Regions from separate parts of the Homo sapiens genome. Here all the other regions are linked to region 3. Evidence: promoter capture Hi-C in human tissues and cell types (Jung and others, 2019). All regions are on one chromosome and are shown on one strand. The core of a region is centred on a gene start or on the middle of the fragment in contact, and the rest is flanking DNA. Distances in the headings are between cores, read along the strand shown. Region 1 overlaps SEPTIN2 (septin 2). Region 2 overlaps ANO7 (anoctamin 7). Region 3 holds the start of KIF1A (kinesin family member 1A). Region 4 holds the start of PASK (PAS domain containing serine/threonine kinase).

Region 1 (2,700 bases), core at 113-2,612, 500 kb before region 3:
AATAATTTTGCTCCTGAGAAAAATTTTCTAATGAATACACATATATTTGTTCAAATTCTCAAGTTATTTGACTCTGCCAAATTTTCCTCTTTCTTTATAGGTCACGTTATCATACTCCAGAGATTGGAAAGGGGAGATATTTATTTAGTAAGTTGGAGACTATAGATTAATTTCTTACCGACCACCATCAGTGTGAACTCAAAACCTTTTTTCACTGATTTTCGGTGAACTTGATTGGGGAGGTTTGCAAATCCAACATAGCCAGGTGTTTCTGGATTTATAAACTGAGTTGGCTGTTGCTAAATAAGATTAAAAAACAAACAAACTAATAAACACCTTAGTAGTTGCTTTTAAGATATAATCAGTTAGACATGAAACAAACATAGGTTATCAGTTTTCACAAATTTTTTAAAAAGTATAAACACTTCCAGAAGGTCATACTTCTATCAGAAAACCAGTAGTATTCAACTAGGAGCATTAAAAAAAGAAAAACTTATCTAGTATAACTCCTTAGTTGTATGCGACTGAAAATTAACATTTTGTTAATCAGTATTCTGTTTAGGAATTTAACAATACATAGAAGATACATGCTTAATACATCTTAATGCAATTTCAAATTTCGACTTGAGAGACTATGGAGTTCCAGGAAAATCAGTCAAGCTTACAAAGTACTGCTACAGCTGACAGTACTTTGAATGAATGGTTTCATTCAACAAACTTGGCTAAAGAATAGCTTCTCCCAGGTATTAGGTGCAATGCATTTCTGAAAAGTATCGAGGAAAAAAGCATCTCTCTTGCTGTGCTTCTAGCTCTATAGAACAGAGTTTCATCAAGGGTGAGGCAGGCAAATTAGGGGTGGGATGTTGAGTATCTAGTGTCAAAGACCAAGAAAGAAAAGACAGAATGAGAAGATCATAGATGACTACACTGAAGCATCAATATTCCTTGACAGAAGGGTATCTGATGAGAGAGAGGACAGAGATATGAGAAGGCAAGAATAGCAGAAGTAACCAGAATCTAGACAGTGGCATACTGAAAATGAGAAGAAATTTTAAAAATCAATTTATTAATTGAAAAAGGCAAGATACAAAATAGTATTTCCTTTAGGATTACATTTTGTAAATGTATAGTCAAATGCACACACAGGTGAAAAAGAATATATGTAACATATTAACAGTGGTTATTCCTGAGTGGTGAAATAATGACTTTTTTTTTTGCTTATCTGTGTTCCATGCTAACACTGGTATAAAATGCAAAAACTGGTATGATGATTTTGCATTGGACAGTAATGAACACCCACAGGATTCAAAGATAAAAAAAAAACAGAAATAATAATCTTGCAATGTTAACCACAAGTTCTGCTTTTCTCAGAATATGTTCTTTAGCACTAATTTATCTCTGAACTAACTTGCAAAGGCTGATTTAAACCAATTTATCAAGTCTAAGAGCCCCATCAATTTCATCATAATAAATTATCAGAATTCTAAATTATCTGGTCTGCTGGGAATGAACTAAGGGGGCCAAAAGGACTGTTACTGATGTGTGTAGAGAAAAGAAAGTAGAAGCCTGAAAAAAGAGAAAGCTCCAAGCTTTTAAGATGACAATTAGGCCAGGCACGGTGGCTCACACCTGTAATCCCAACACTTCGGGGGGCCAAAGCGGGTGGATCACGAGGTCAACAGATCAAGGCCATCCTGGCCAACACGGTGAAACCCCGAATTTACTAAAATCCAAAAAATTAGCCAGCGTGGTGGCACGTGTCTGCAGTCCCAGCTACTCCGGAGGCTGAGCCAGGGGAATCGCTTGAACGTGGGAGGCAGAAGTTGCAGTGAGCTGAGATCATGCCACTGCACTCCAGCCTGGTGACAGAACAAGACTCCCGTCTCAAAAAAAAAAAAAAAAAGACAACTAAATTAGAACTCTTTGTGTTAATGAATCAAATGTATCAGTTGTATTAAAAATAATGAATCATATAAGTCCCGACTGTCAACAGTCTGAAAACATAAAGCAATTTCTCCTTATGCTGTAGATACATGAAGTATGATCTTACCTTAGACATCTTTTGTGAAGCTTCGTCTGTTAAAAAAAAAACACACAGACACACATAAACGCACATACATAGTATGTATGTATACGCACGTATATTTAACAGCGTGAACTGACCTGAAGAAGACTTACACATACATAGGCAATGTAAAAAGAAAATACAATTTCAGGACCTTCCAAATGCATTAGGCCAAAGGGAAAAGTTAAGCACTGACAGCTGGCTCGTGTAACATCACTACTTTTATTCTTTCTGACTTTTGTGTTTAGATGTATATATTAACCAGACCCCCTATTCTTTATTCAAAACTAGACTAAATGACTGGGAGATGAGAGATCCTTATGACTGTTACTTCTTTACAAAAGGAAGTTAAACAAATCCCTTCAAGTGTAATCAATAGTAGCCAATCAAATTTGTATCTTTAAATGAGCCTTAGTTCCGAAAATGTTATAATTCTGTTTGGCACCTCCATTTTGCCTATATAAACAATCCTCATTTTTCCCCACCCTGGGAGCGCTAATCACCATTCTTTGGTGTAGCTCGCTTACACTCTGTACTTAAATGAATTCTTTTAACTGAATCAGGAGCCTTTTGATTATTTTAGGTGACAGCATCTCAATTACTTCAAATATTTCCCTAGGAATAAGACAAGCATC
Region 2 (2,700 bases), core at 111-2,610, 380 kb before region 3:
TCAGACTGGGAGCACTCCTGTCCACTTGTGTCAACCTGGGAGCACTCCTGTCCACCTGTCAGCCTTGGAGCACTCCTGTCCACCTGTGTCAGGCTGGGAGCACTCCTGCCCACCTGTGTCAGGCTGGGAGCACTCCTGTCCACCTGTGTCAGCCTGGGAGCACTCCTGTCCACCTGTCAGGCTGGGAGCACTCCTGTCCACCTATGTCAGCCTGGGAGCACTCCTGTCCACCTGTGTCAGCCTGGTAGCACTCCTGCCCACCTGTGTCAGGCTGGGAGCACTCCTGCCCACCTGTCAGCCTGGGAGCACTCCTGTCCACCTGTCAGACTGGGAGCACTCCTGTCCACCTGTCAGACTGGGAGCACTCCTGTCCACCTGTCAGCCTGGGAGCACTCCTGTCCACTTGTCAGACTGGGAACACTCCTGTCCACCTGTGTCAGCCTTGGAGCACTCCTGTCCACCTGTGTCAGGCTGGGAGCACTCCTGCCCACCTGTGTCAGGCTGGGAGCACTCCTGTCCACCTGTGTCAGCCTGGGAGCACTCCTGTCCACCTGTCAGACTGGGAGCACTCCTGTCCACCTGTGTCAGCCTTGGAGCACTCCTGTCCACCTGTCAGACTGGGAGCACTCCTGTCCACCTGTGTCAGCCTTGGAGCACTCTTATCCACCTGTGTCAGCCTGAGAGCACACCTGTCTACCTGTTTCAGCCTGAGAGCAGTCCTAGCTACCTGTCAGCCTGGGAGCACTCCTGTCCACCTATCAGCCTGGGAGCACTCCTGACCACCTGTCAGCCTGGGAGCACTCCTATCCACCGGTGCCAGCCTGGGAGCACTCCTGACTACCTGTCAGCCTGGGAGCGCCCCGTCTGCCTGTCAGTCTGGGAGTGCTCCTGACCACCTGTCAGTTTGGGAGCACTCCTGTCCACCTGTCAGCCTGGGAGCACTCCTGTCCACCTGTCAGCCTGGGAGCACTCCTGTCCACCTGCCAGCCTTTCAGCCATGTCCACAAGGCCCTCTGTGACACTCCTGAAGACAGGCATGTGCTCACCTCACACCTCAATCACCTCAAGCACCAGCTGTCTGCACAGGACCTAGCACCTAGGGGTCCCCCCGCCCCACACCCATCTGGAGGCCCAGCACCAGGCCCCAGAGCTGCGGAGAGGGAACACTCACGTGGGTATGTCTGAGAACACCAGGAAGCAGCCCACCAGGAACACCAGTGTGCCCACCACTGCCGCTGGCAGGAGCCAGCCTGTGTAAAACCCTGTAGAGAGGATGGCAGGGGTCCACCATCAGGAACCCAGGCTTGGGGGCCCCAGGTAGGGGTCTGCACAGCCATGCTTGTCCCCTAGGGACCACCCTCAGCCCAGCTTGGGGGCTGGGGCCCTATGTGAGGAGGCCAAGAGGTACACAGCTCTCCCTGGCAGCTCTGGCACGGCCCACCCTCCTGGGCCTCTGCCCTAGACTCTGGACACCCCTACCACATTGACCCCAACACCAGTGCTGCTGGGGCTCCAGCCCACCAGGCTCTCCACCTCTGGATGCCTTCTCCTCAGCCAGCTCACTCCAACCAACCTGCCCGGGACGGACAGAGAAGTCCCTCTACATCCTGCCCACCACAGAGCTGTGGGCCCACCCGTGTTCCAGCCCCAGGGAAACCACGAGTCATTCCGGGTACCTCCCTCCCCACCACCCAACCCCCACCCTGGCCCCTGCCTCATCTGACCACAGCCGCAATCCCTCAGTTACCCCAGGCCCTCAGCATGTACCCCCACTGCCTCCCATAGGGCTAGTCCAGTCCCAGGCCTGGTGTCCTGTCTCCTGCCTGACTCTCTGCTGGCCAAAGTGACTGCTGTGAAACGCAAGTCTGCCTGGAGCCCAGATCCAGCCCTGGCCCTGCTTGCCCCCAGAAGCCCCCAGCCTGGCCGTGCTGTCCCAGGGTTGCTGCTCCAGGTCCTGAGATGGCCGGGTGAGTCCTGGCACACAGGAGCTGTCCCTCTGCCCCGATGCTGTGCCCCGGCTGCCCTTCCATGCCTGCCGGCCCCGCCCGCTGCCCTGGCTGGCTCTATTGTCTGGGTCCACGGTGGGGCTGTGTGTGCGGATGAGAAAGGGCTTTGGAAGTTCTGGGGCACAGAATGAAGGGGTTGGGTCTGACCCAGGATGGGGAAGGGAGGGTGCCAAGAGCTGAGTGGGGTGAGGGCAGCCAGGACCCAGGAGGAACAGCTCTGGGGTTGCCTGGGGCAGATGGCCTGCTTGGAGGAGATGAGAGGCTTGGCCTGGACCCAGGCAGGGGCGACCTCCCTAGGATGGAAGTTCCTGGGGTTGCCCCAGGGCCTCATGGGCCAGTGACATTCGGGGAGGGAGTCAGGAGAGACCCCCACCAGCAGAAGCGGCTCTCAGCACTGTTACTGGAGCATTAGGAGGCCAGGGCCCGGCATCGTCATGGCGCCCAGTTAGAGTGAGTGGGCTTGAGGGGAGCCAGGAGGGCAGCCCGGTCGAGCCAAGAGCTGCGCCCACCGTCCAGGCCCCCACGCACGCTGCCCTCCAGGGGTACGGACTGGCAAATTGTTACAACCTGACACCAAGCTGGGGGGGCCCAGGTGGTCTGGGGGGCAGCGGGGGGGACTCACCGAGCCAGGCGAAGTAGAGGGCCACCTTCTCCCCGAAGTACCTGCGCACGTGGTCCAGGGGCTGGTACTTGT
Region 3 (2,700 bases), core at 200-2,699:
ATTAACGTGAAATAGATTAATTCCTAGAAAAATGTCTATTGCCTCGAGAAATAGAGAACTTGCCAGATTAAAAAGCATGAGGAAAACGGAGGTGATAAAGACCCCAGCCCCAGAAGCCCAGATGGTTTTATTGTTTCTGCCAGGGTTAGGAAGAACAATTGATTTCTCTTTCATGCCGGCGGTTCCAGGAAATAGTGAAGGAGGAGGAGCTGTCTAGCTGGTTTCGGCGGGGCTGGGGCTGGGAGTGGGGGGCCCGTGTCTTGCAGAAGTGGATGTGAATCTCCCCCAGCCACCTGCAAGGCGCTCGCACGCAGCTGTCGGGACTGAGGTGAAGCCGGCTCTCCCAGGAGTGTGGATGAAATGGTTAACGGCGAGGCCGCTAGGGCAGCGCAGGCCCCTGCTGGGCGCCAGGGAGGCTTAGCCAGGCGACGCCAGGATGCCCATGGCAGGGGCTCGATGGCAGGGGCTGGGCTGGAGGGGACCCAGCCCCGGGGTTCAGGGTGGCCCGAAATCCGTGCACCCCCGCACCGCAGTGCGGGGAGGTTCCCATGGGCGAGCTGCCCAGAGGCTTTGTCGAAGTTGCCCAGCCCTGGGACGGTGGAGGGAGGACGGTGGCGCGCACAGAGATACCAGTCAGCCCCTGGAACTAGGAAGGCGGCTGGGGGCGGGTGACGCAGGCTGGGGTTTGCCGGGGTGGCCCCCGAGCGGCGTGTGACTTGGGGGTCCAAGGAAGTTAAACTGGACAGGCTGGGGTGAGGACAATGGGGGCCTGGAGAGGTGGGGCGAGAGGAGGGCGGGGGGTCCCCACGAGCCGCGGTAGAGGCGAGGCGGCGGGTCCGCGGGCGGGTTGCATCATCCGGCGGGGAGGGCCTGGGTCACTGCTGCTCTTCCCCCGGCGCCCCGGCCCCGACACAAGATGCGATTTCACCGCGCACCTGTTACACCCGGAGCCAGCATCCCTGGCGCAAGGAGCCCTCCCTCCCCAGCCCCGCCCGCCCCCCACGATGCGTCTGTCGCTGGCTCAGAGCGGGGGCAGGTGGACGTTTTACGATTTCACTCGAAAGGGGCCAGGGTGGGGGACGGCCCGGCGAGGGGTCCGCGGGCAAGTTCAGGTGCACGCGGGGCTTCGGGACGGGGCGCCGCCGGGTCCCTCCCCCGCGAGGTCTCAGGGGCACGCCGGGGGAGGGGACGCTGCGTCCGAGCCGGGTGTCGGTCCCCCACCCTCCGCGGGGCCCGCCGCGGTGTCAGCGGTGACGTCACAGCCCGGCCCCGGCCCCCTCCGTCCCCAGCCCCATCCCCGCGGCGGCCGCGTCGCCCGTCCCTCTCCCCGCGCGACAAACCAGCTGGCGACTGGAGCTCGGACGCCGCGCGCAGCCAACCAGCGCCTCGGGAGGGGCGCGGGGCGGTCCGGGCCGGGGGCGCGCAGCCCGTCACGCGGCGGCGCCGTCACAGCGCAGAGCAGCCGGCGAGCGGCAGCAGCTCCGGGCTCGAGAGCCCGCGCCCATGCCAGTGCCCATGCGGGGCCGCCGCCAGTGACGCCGGAGAGGTAAGGCCGCCGCCCGCCCGGCCTCCCGCGCCCGCGCCCCTCGCCCCGCACCTGCGCCCGGCAGCCCGCGCCCGCAGCCCGCACCTGCACCCACTGCGCCCAGGGCGGGGAGCTCCGGCCCGGCGCCCTTGTTGCCGCCCAAAGCGCAGGCACTGCGAGGCCCCTTCACTTCCAGACCTTCCTCCATCTCCGCAGAGAACAATGGGGGAAATTCAGGGGTGTCCGCCCTTCAGGTGCCGCTGGAAAAGGTCCCTTTGCCGCGATCTCGGCTGCAGCGGGACCCTCGGCTTAGGCGGGCGGGGGTCGCCCTCGGGAGGGCTCGCCCGGCCGGCGGGATCGGGATACCCCCGCCCTTCCCCGGCTATTCCGCTTCCCTGGAGAGGAGCCACCGGCGGGGCTGCGGGAGGGGCTGCGCCCAGACGGCGGGGGAGGGGAGGGATGGTGAGCGGGGCTGAGGACGCTGACGCCGCACCTGGGAGGGTGCGCGGCTGCAGCGCCTCGGCCCGAGGGGAGAGCGCGCAGGGCGGCCGGGCGCGGGCAGCTGCTCCGGTTCCCGGGGTGGGGGAGGGCGGATGCTGGAGCCGGGAGCAAAACAGGCGGGCGGGGCGGGGGCTGCGGCGTTGGGGCCTGGCCACCCGCTTCGTTGCACGGCCGGCCTGCCCATCACCCCCTCCCACGCCAGAGACCCCAGCTCCCTTCCAGAAAGACCCAGCACCTGGGAGGGGCCGCCGGCGAGCACTGCCTGCGTCTCAGCAGCCAGCGCCCCTGTAACAGGTGTGGCCCGGCGGCGAGGGAGGGGCTGCGGGGCCGCAGGGTCTAGGCTGGCGGCGCGCCCCCGGCGCCCGGGCTCGGATGACACGAAGGAACAGTGGCCGCGAAGACCTTCGCACTCCCGCTTTAAGCCGCTCCTCACGCTGACTTCCCCCAAACCAGCCGCGCTGCCCTCTCGCTGGGAAGGGCCGGGGCAGCATCCCCGCCGGGAGGGAGGGTCCGCAGGAGCGGGGCGCTGGGCGCCGGTAGGTGGGGTTGGGGGGGCCCTGCCGGCCGCAGGGGCGGGAGGGGGAGGGGAAGGAGGGAATGCCAAGTCATGGGGCCTGCTGGGCGCGAGCGCGACGTCGCCCGGCGCGGACCCGATGCGCGCCCACGTCCCCGGG
Region 4 (2,700 bases), core at 58-2,557, 330 kb before region 3:
CGCTCTCCCCCTAGCTCTGGGTCCTTCCCGGCCGCTGCCGCCCCCGGGCCGGGGCTCCCCCGAGGTCCAGCGCCTCCCCCGCTCCCCCGGGTCCGGCTGTCAGCTGTCAGGGGGCCGCGCGGCGGCGGCCAGAGGCAGGACGTGGAGTTTCTCTCAGGCACGGAGCAGTTCCAGCCCGCAGCTCCCCCCGCCCGCTGGGCCCTTGGGCCGCCGCCCGCAGGGGCCGCTCACCCTCCATCATCTCCTGCGACTGTTGCTGCCCCGCGCCGCGTTCCGCCGCCATGTTGGCTGCTCTTCCCCTTTCCGGAATCTGTCGCCTCAGACCCCTCAGCCAATCAGGGCTCCCGCCTCAGAGCCGGCCCTGCCAATGGGATTCCGGCGCGGCGACTTCAGCCGCGCCGCGCCTGCGTGGGCCCAGCGCCTCATGGGAGTTGTAGTTCCGTCATGAGGCCGCGCGCCGCGCCTCCCCCAGAGCAGGTAATTTCAGGCGGCGGAGCCGGAACAGTCTGGAGGCGAGAAGCTGGGAAGGAAAGCAGAGGGAGTCGAAGCGGGACGCACAGAGCCGTAGCTGCAGGCAGACGGAGTGGACGTCTAGGCAGAGTGGAGAGACGCCCTGGGCTTGAGAGTTGACTTATGTCACTGTCTCGACCTCGGAGGCGTGGAGGGGCCGCGGGCCAGGCGGATCTTTCCGTGGCTGCAAGGTGCGGGCCAGTCCTACGTGCATCCCTGACCTCTGCGAGCCTCGCTGGCTGCGTCTGTACAATGGGCCGAACGGCAAGAGCAACAACATTCTCCCGGCGTCCCCGCGCGGATTTTACCCATGCGAAATGCCGCCTTCTCTTGACGCTCGGAGCAGGCGGGCAGGTGCGGGGCACTTGCGCTGGTGGGGCCGCTAGCCAGCTGGCTGGCTCCGGGGCGCCAGCTGGGCTCCCCTTGCAAGTCGTTCCCAGCCCAGTGCGGACGCTGCAGCCTTCGTCTACCCTGCGGAGCCACCCGGCCCATGAACGAGCCGCCCCGCGTCCTCCGCCTTCAGAAAGAGGCCTCCAAGAGGCGAGCTCTGCGCTACTCACCCATTTTGATCGCGAGTCGGGAGGAAACCGCATCTGCCCGGCCCGGGGGCGGAGGCGCCCATTATTCCTTTGGCTCCTCCGAAGCGCCGTAGGGGTGTTTGGTGCGTCCCTAGCAACCCTTAGCGCGGGCTTCTAGACTCTGGCTAGCTTAGTCCCGCCCATACGCGCAAGTGGCTGGTCCGTGGAGCTTGTCAATCGGTGCTAGTCGCTGTGCGATTGGTCGGTGGGATAAAAGCGCGGAAGGGCTCCTTTCCGTGGTGTGTAGCCGGCTTGGCGTGACCCTCGCCTGATCCAGGTGAGATACCTGCGCTCGGGAGAGCGGGCCGGGCTCCGCCATCTCCCCAGGGCGGCTGTGGGGCCTGCGCGGCTCCGCGCCCCTGGCCCAGGAGGATCCGCCGCCCGACTCTTAGACCAGCCCGACCCCGGGTCTCCCGCCCCTGCGCCCGTCGCCCTTCGCGCACCGCCGAGCCCGCGTCCTCTCCGTGCCCAAATCGCGGCGGGGTTGCGGCCGTTGGCCCTGGGCCCCGCGCCCCCAGCGTCTTCGGGGTGCCCTTCAGTGTAGCCTGCCCGGTGGGCGCCGAGGCCCCGCGCCTCGGGTCGCCTCGGGACCCTGCGCTCTCTTCACCGCAGCCGGCCCTGCGGGGCGAGCTCCAGGAGAACCAGCCCGGATCCCGCCAGCCTCCTGCACTGGGCGTGTGGGTCCCTGCGGGCTCAGCCGGCGCCGCGGGGTCGGGGGCGCGCGCCGCCGGCGCTCGTGGTTACAGCAAAGACCTGGACTTGAGCCTTAATTTTTTCACTAATTTTTCTTTCCCAGAGTACGGCAGGGGCCTGCGCTGCCGTCTTGAGGCCTTTCTCGTCCTTACCTTCCGCATCTCAGTACCATTCGATGTCCATTTTTCTCTTAGGGGTTCCCTCTCTTCATCTTTCTGCTGCTACCTTAATTTAAGACTTTATAATTTCTTGCCTGGATTACTGTAGCCTTTCTCCTGCTTTCCAGCCTTGCACCGACATGGTCCCTGGAGTAATCTTTGTAAAATGCATATCTGGCCATGTTACTCCTAAGCATTGAATCCTTAAAAGTTCATTTTGGGGATAAAATTAAGACTTTGGGCAGGCATAGGAGGCTCTGGGCTCATGCTTGGCCCTTCCAGGCCCACGTCCACCTACTCTTCTGGGTACTGAACTCCTCTCTGGGAGGCTTTGCCTCTGAAAGACTTCTTCACTCTGCTTGGTAGGGCCCGGCTCTGCAGGTGCCTCCTCCAGGACTGACATCCTTGCTGTGTTCTACTGCACTGTTCACCTTGTTGGCCTCATCCTGAAACTGGTTCTCCTTTTTGTTGTACAGCTGTGCTGACAGCAATGGGAGCTGTTTGCTTCTTAGCTTATGTTCTGGTGGGAGGGGGACAGTTGCTTCTAGAAGTTCGCCGAGATGCTCCCTGCAAAGTTGTCCTTGCTTCTGTTTGGTCTGAGGTGGGGTCACTTGTGTCTTCTGGAATCAAAACTAGCAATGGGAATATGGTTACTCGGTGGCACCATTAGGTGCTGTCTGCTGGGTTTGGGTTCCCGTGTCTGCAGCTCACAGTGGATACAAAGGACAATTTTAAAAATTTGGGCCTGGACGTGCAGGTAT

The links. Contacts are between HindIII fragments. The study calls those that stand out against the background at their distance.
Region 1: a contact is called between a fragment that was not itself captured here and the fragment with the promoter of KIF1A in region 3, in 1 of the 25 tissues and cell types used here (hippocampus).
Region 2: a fragment that was not itself captured here is called in contact with the fragment with the promoter of KIF1A in region 3 in 1 of the 25 tissues and cell types used here (aorta).
Region 4: the fragment with the promoter of PASK here is called in contact with the fragment with the promoter of KIF1A in region 3 in 1 of the 25 tissues and cell types used here (dorsolateral prefrontal cortex).

The regions. Positions count from the first base shown.
Region 1 is chr2:241,323,592-241,326,291 of GRCh38, reverse strand. SEPTIN2 (septin 2) reads right to left here. Exons shown (of 13, transcript NM_004404.5): 2 at 2,051-2,076; 3 at 179-299. The coding sequence starts at 2,059. Among named protein-coding and RNA genes, the nearest start is that of SEPTIN2, 9.0 kb to the right of the region's middle. The HindIII fragment of the contact is 3,359 bases long and covers 1-2,700 here.
Region 2 is chr2:241,203,427-241,206,126 of GRCh38, reverse strand. ANO7 (anoctamin 7) reads right to left here. Exons shown (of 25, transcript NM_001370694.2): 9 at 2,629-2,700; 10 at 1,172-1,262. Among named protein-coding and RNA genes, the nearest start is that of ANO7, 16 kb to the right of the region's middle. The HindIII fragment of the contact is 6,060 bases long and covers 1-2,700 here.
Region 3 is chr2:240,818,968-240,821,667 of GRCh38, reverse strand. It overlaps KIF1A (kinesin family member 1A), which reads left to right and starts at 1,449. Exons shown (of 49, transcript NM_001244008.2): 1 at 1,449-1,546. RefSeq lists an enhancer at 463-1,037. The HindIII fragment of the contact is 12,815 bases long and covers 1-2,700 here.
Region 4 is chr2:241,148,079-241,150,778 of GRCh38, reverse strand. PASK (PAS domain containing serine/threonine kinase) reads left to right here and starts at 1,307. Exons shown (of 18, transcript NM_015148.4): 1 at 1,307-1,365. It overlaps PPP1R7 (protein phosphatase 1 regulatory subunit 7), which reads right to left and starts at 312. Exons shown (of 10, transcript NM_002712.3): 1 at 232-312. The coding sequence starts at 283. RefSeq lists silencers at 1-230, 1,361-1,720, 1,781-1,840, 1,891-1,940 and enhancers at 521-680, 2,194-2,353. The HindIII fragment of the contact is 22,172 bases long and covers 1-2,700 here.